2 separate regions of the Homo sapiens genome follow, and region 2 is linked to region 1. Evidence: promoter capture Hi-C in human tissues and cell types (Jung and others, 2019). All regions are on one chromosome and are shown on one strand. The core of a region is centred on a gene start or on the middle of the fragment in contact, and the rest is flanking DNA. Distances in the headings are between cores, read along the strand shown. Region 1 holds the start of NKAIN1 (sodium/potassium transporting ATPase interacting 1). Region 2 has its middle 24 kb from the start of LINC01226.

Region 1 (2,794 bases), core at 134-2,633:
CTGCCTCTCCTTAACCACCCTCCCAAATTCCCCTGCCAGGGCCTGATTTGAAGGGCAGTGCTGTTTCTTCTAGTCCACTACAGTCACTCCTCCCTGAGACAAGAACCTGAGTTCCCTATGCTGGGGCTAGGCACAGTGTCCTCAGATGCTCTGGTCCTCCCTAGGGCACCCAAGTGTCCCCATCCCCACTGTTGCTGGCCCCGGCAGAGGAGCTGCTCTGGTGGGTGGAACTGATGACTGATGGAACCCCCATGGCCACAGCGGCCAGACCAAAGCAGGAAGTGTGGTCCAGGCTGGGTCAGGCTGGCCCAGGATCTGGCAGCTCCTGGTGACCCTCTCCAGGGAGGTGGCTCTCCTTTCCCAGGACTGCCCGGTCAGGAAGGTGAAGGGAGGCAGAAACAACACAAAGGATTGGAGGGTTCTTGGAGTCTAAGATCCCAGAACACAGATGAACATGGGCCAGAAATGGTCAGCGATTTAGAGACACACCAAAGAGAAACCCTGAGAGACACACGCCGGAGCAGAGACTTTGTGAGAAACGCTCACACAGGGGTGGTGATCAGAGGCAGAGACCCAGAGGAAGGGAGAGACCCATGCAAACGAGGGATCTAGAGGGAAACACACAGCAGGACCTCAACGGATCCACAGATCAGCCTCAGACACACCCCCAGTCCCAGCAAGCCACCGTCCCACAGCGCATCCCCCAACAGGAGGCCACTTGTACAGTGCGGGCGGGCCGGGGACTCGCGCACAGGACGCACTTGGGGACCGGAGGAGCGCCGGGCACAGCAGCGAGAAGCGCACACAAAGAGACAGCCCGGCCAGCGGGAGCAGGCTCCGCCCGACCGCTCCGAGACTCCAGACCACCCCCCGCCCGGGCACACGCACCAGACACACACACAGAGACACACGCAACCCCACCCGCACGCCCTGGGACCGCGCCCCGCCGCGCCCCACCCTGCCCCGACTGCCTGGGCACGCGACGCTTACCAGCTGCAGGCAGCAGAAGGCGACCAGCGTGCAGCGCCCGCTGCACTTGCCCATGGCTCCGGGGGCTGCGCGGGCCGCACGCCGCGGCGCCCTTCTTGCTCCGCGGCCGCCGCCTGCTCGCGCCGCGCGGGCTCCACGTCCTCCCCGCTGGGCGCGCCGGGCGGCGGGGCCGGGCGCCTAGGGCCGGGCCCGGGAGTGTCCGGTCCCCAAGGCTGGGGCCGGCCGCCCGCGCTCCGAGTCCATGGTCCGTCCGTCCGCGCGCTGGCCCCGCCGAGCCGCGCCTCCTTTGTCTAGCGGGCCGTCCGTCAGGCGCGCCTCCTGCCCCGGGGCGGCTGGCGGGGAGCGCGGAGCAAGGAGAGCGAGCCCCGAGCGCGGCGCAGCGCAGAGCAGCACTGCCCAGCTGGGGCAGTCGCCCGGGCTCTCGTCGGCCGCGGCTTCCCGGCCCCACCACGTGGCTCCGCCGCCGCCACCGACAGGGAGGGAGTTGGGGGGAACGGCAGAGGGGTGGGGCGGGGGAGCCGCCGGAGGGGAGGGGAGAGGGATAGGGAGGTGGAGGGTTGGAGAGGCAGGGAGTGAAGTGGAAGAGTGCGTGCGGGCTTAGGGGACAACAGCCCTGAGTCAAATCCAGACTTTGCTGCTCACTCGCTGTGTGACCTTGGGCAAATCACGTCACCTCTCTGGACCTGTTTTCTCATGAACAAAGTAGGAATAATTATGCCTCTTTAGTGTAGATATGAAGATGAAATGCAGTCATGTGAATAAAGCGCTTAGCCCTGTGCCTGGCCTCCTGGCTTGGAACACTTTTTTGTCCACCCTGTCTCTAGGGCTCCAGGGTTCCAACTTGGACTTCTAGTTCTATTTACGTTCCCAGATCTGCTCCTCACCCCAGCCTCTCCCCTGAGTGTCTGGCCACATTTTTCGCCTTCCTTCTTTCCGTCTACTGGCATTTATTGAGCCCTGACTGCATACACACCCCTGGGGGCCCTGCGAGCCAGAGATGAGACCTGCAACACTGTTCCAAATCCCGTAGAGCTGCACCGCCCAGGGAACAGATAGGCTCCCAAGAGCACGCCAGTGAGATGGGTGATGGCAGAGATCTGCCCAGGTGGAGGTAGGGAGCCCCTACCCTGGGCTGCAGTAGGGACAGAGTCAGAAGTTTCCCAGCAGAAGATTGCCTTCTCCAAGCCACCCCCAAAAGCCCTCGAACTGGACACATCTCAAATCCACATAATCATTCCTGTCCCACTCCTAACTTCCTATATTCACCTTGGCAATTAGCATCACCCAAGTGGAATTTCCTAGGTCATCCTCCAGGCTTCCCTACAATTACATCTGATCTGTCACTACATTCTATAAACTGTACTTTCCAACTAACATTTATGAAATACCCACTATGTGCCAGGTTCTCTGCTGGGGATAAGGGAACAAAACCCGACAAAATCTCTGCCCTCATTGAGCACACAGTCTAGTGAGGGATTGTCATTAAAACAAGGAAATATACAAATAAATACGCAAAGTTCTGATGAATACTCTAAAGAATATTAAAGAAGAAACGTGGCACGGTGGCTCACACCTGTAATTTCAGCACTTTGGGAGGCTGAATCAGCTCACTGCAACCTCCACCTGAGTGGAGATCGGCCTCCCAAAAGTGAGTGGATCACCTGAGTTCAGGAGTTCGAGACCAGCCTGGCCAACGTGGTGAAACCCCATCTCTACTAAAAATACAAAAATTAGGCAGGGATGGTATCAGGCACCTGTAATCCCAGCTACTCAGGAGGTTGAGGCAGGAGAATCGCTTGAACCC
Region 2 (2,794 bases), core at 197-2,696, 250 kb after region 1:
TGGGCATCATGGCCATCATGAACAAGTCACAGTGCTGCAGAGATTTTGTTCATGGCCAGTTTTGGGGCCAGTTTATGGCCAGATTTTGGGGGGCCTGTTCCCAACAGTTGTGAATACTATTCAATGAGTTAAGCACTGGTGGAAGAAGCCTGGGGTCTGGAATCAGACAGACCCATGTTTGAATCCTGGCTCTGCCACTTACTGACAACCATGGAAATTCTTCATTTTAAACATCTGTAAGCCTCTGATTTTTCATCTGTAAAATGGAGATGATGATTAGTGCTTCATGGGATTGTTATGAGGATGATAAGAAATAGTGAAATTATGCAATGCATAATTTATAAAGATTCCATATTCATTAATCCAACATGGGAGTCATAGAAATGTTGGACCTGGTTTATTTTTCTTCTGATCCTTGCTACAAAACAGATGATAGTTTTTATACATTTAAGGCAAAATAACATTGGCATCTTATTTTTGTGAAATATCTCCCTTAAGGTGAAGCTTCAGATATTGCACATAAAGAAGACCTTTAATAGCATAGTTAAAGAAAAACTGAAGTATTTTTTACTTTATTCACATGGCCATCCCAGGGCCTAAAGGGTCTAACCCCCATTGTTGGCTAGTCACCCTTGAATTCCAACTCCATGCTTAGTTCATAGGATCAAACTTGTTGCTTTGTTTGTAGTGATGTTCCAGAAGAAATGAGGATATAATCAGGCAGAATGAGCTGAAAACTATTTACCCACCAGAGCTCTGCACAAGCCGGTCACAGCCCTCTGAGAAAGATAGAGCTGTCAGAGCCATTTGCTAAGAACTTTCTGCTAACATGTGTATCAGGCAGATGAGGCCAGGAACAGTCCTCTAACCCCAGGGATTTCAATTAACACGGTTTAAACTAAGATCTTTACTTAGATTATCTCATTTAATCCTCAAAACAATGCTGGTATCAAACACTAACATATTAATTCCATTTTTCAGATGAGGAAATGGAGGATCAGGAAAGGTGACATAATTTTATTAGAAGCTGGGATTCAGAAGAAGAACACAATCTCTGCATTAAATAACTTATTAAGGTTTTATAGTCAAGGGAACTGAAACCTGAGTGGCTTATTCAGGCCACAATATCCTTTTAGTTAATCCCCAGGTGTCCTAACTCCCAGGAAGAGCTGAGTTTTATATTTATGAATATACACAAATTATAAATCAGGTGCCACCAAACCTGATGATCTTTCACAAGTGTGATCTCTTGTGTCACATCCAAGCTTAGAAAGTAATTCTTTTAAAGATACTTTAGTCAATTCTCTCTCTCTTTTTTTTTTTTTTTTTGAGATGGAGTCTTGCTCTGTCACCCAGGCTGGAGTGCAGTGGCATGATCTCTGCTCACTGCAACCTCTGTTCCCTGGGTTCAAGCGATTCTCCTGCCTTAGCTCCTCAAGTAGCTGGGACTACAGGTGTGCGCCACCACGCCTGGCTAATTTTTTTGTATTTTTAGTAGAGACAGGATTTTGCCATGTTGGCCAGGTTGGTCTCAAACTCCTGGCCTCAAGTGATCTGCCCTCCTCGGCCTCCCAAGGTGCTGGGATTACAGGCATGTGCCACTGCACCTGGCTGATTTTTTAAATCCCAGCACTTTGGGAGGCCTGGAATCCTAGCACTTTGGGAGACCAAGGCAGGTGGATTGTCTGAGCTCAGGAGTTCGAGATCAGCCTGGGCAACATGGTGAAACCCTGTCTCTACTAAAATACAAAAAATTAGATGGATGTGGTGGCGGGTCCCTGTAATCCCAGGTACTCAGGAGGCTGAGACAGGAGAATCGCTTGAACTCAAGAGGCAGAGATTGCAGTGAGCCGAGATCATGCCATTGCACTCCAGCCTGGGAGACTGAGTGAGACTCTGTCTCAAAAAATATATATATATATATAATATATATATTATATATATATAATATATATATTATATATATTATATATAATATATATATTATATATATTATATATATTATATATAATATATATATTATATATATATTATATATATTATATATAATATATATTATATATATTATATAATATATATAATATATATATTTTATATATATTATATATAATATATATATTTTATATATATTATATATAATACATGTATATATAATATATTTTATATATATTATATATAATACATGTATATATAATATATTTTATATATATTATATATAATACATGTATATATTATATATTTTATATATATATTTAACTTTTTTAATAAGAGAATAACTGGTGATCCTGGACCCCCCTGGATGGATGCAGAGATTGTGCAATCTGTTTTTTGTTTTGTTGTGTTTTGGTTTTTTTAATTTAATTTTTTTATTATTATACTTTAAGTTCTAGGGTACATGTGCATAACGTGCAGGTTTGTTACATATGCATACATGTGCCATGTTGGTGTGCTGCACCCATTAACTCGTCATTTACATTAGGTATATCTCCTAATGCTATCCCTCCCCACTCCGCCCACCACACAACAGGCTCCGGTGTGTGATGTTCCCCACCCTGTGTCCAAGTGCTCTCATTGTTCAATTCCCACCTATGAGTGAGAACATGCGGTGCTTGGTTTTTCGTCTTTGCAATAGTTTGCTGAGAATGATGGTTTCCAGCTTCATCCATGTCCCTACAAAGGACATGAACTCATCCTTTTTTATGGCTGCATAGTATTCCATGGTGTATATGTGCCACATTTTCTTAATCCAGTCTATCATTGATGGACATTTAGGTTGGTTCCAAGTCTTTGCTGT

Evidence for each region. Contacts are between HindIII fragments. The study calls those that stand out against the background at their distance.
Region 2: a contact is called between a fragment that was not itself captured here and the fragment with the promoter of NKAIN1 in region 1, in 3 of the 25 tissues and cell types used here (dorsolateral prefrontal cortex, lymphoblastoid cells and mesenchymal stem cells).

The regions. Positions count from the first base shown.
Region 1 is chr1:31,238,504-31,241,297 of GRCh38, forward strand. It overlaps NKAIN1 (sodium/potassium transporting ATPase interacting 1), which reads right to left and starts at 1,384. Exons shown (of 7, transcript NM_024522.3): 1 at 991-1,384. The coding sequence starts at 1,044. The HindIII fragment of the contact is 31,179 bases long and covers 1-2,794 here.
Region 2 is chr1:31,492,855-31,495,648 of GRCh38, forward strand. No RefSeq gene overlaps it. Among named protein-coding and RNA genes, the nearest start is that of LINC01226, 24 kb to the right of the region's middle. The HindIII fragment of the contact is 6,478 bases long and covers 1-2,794 here.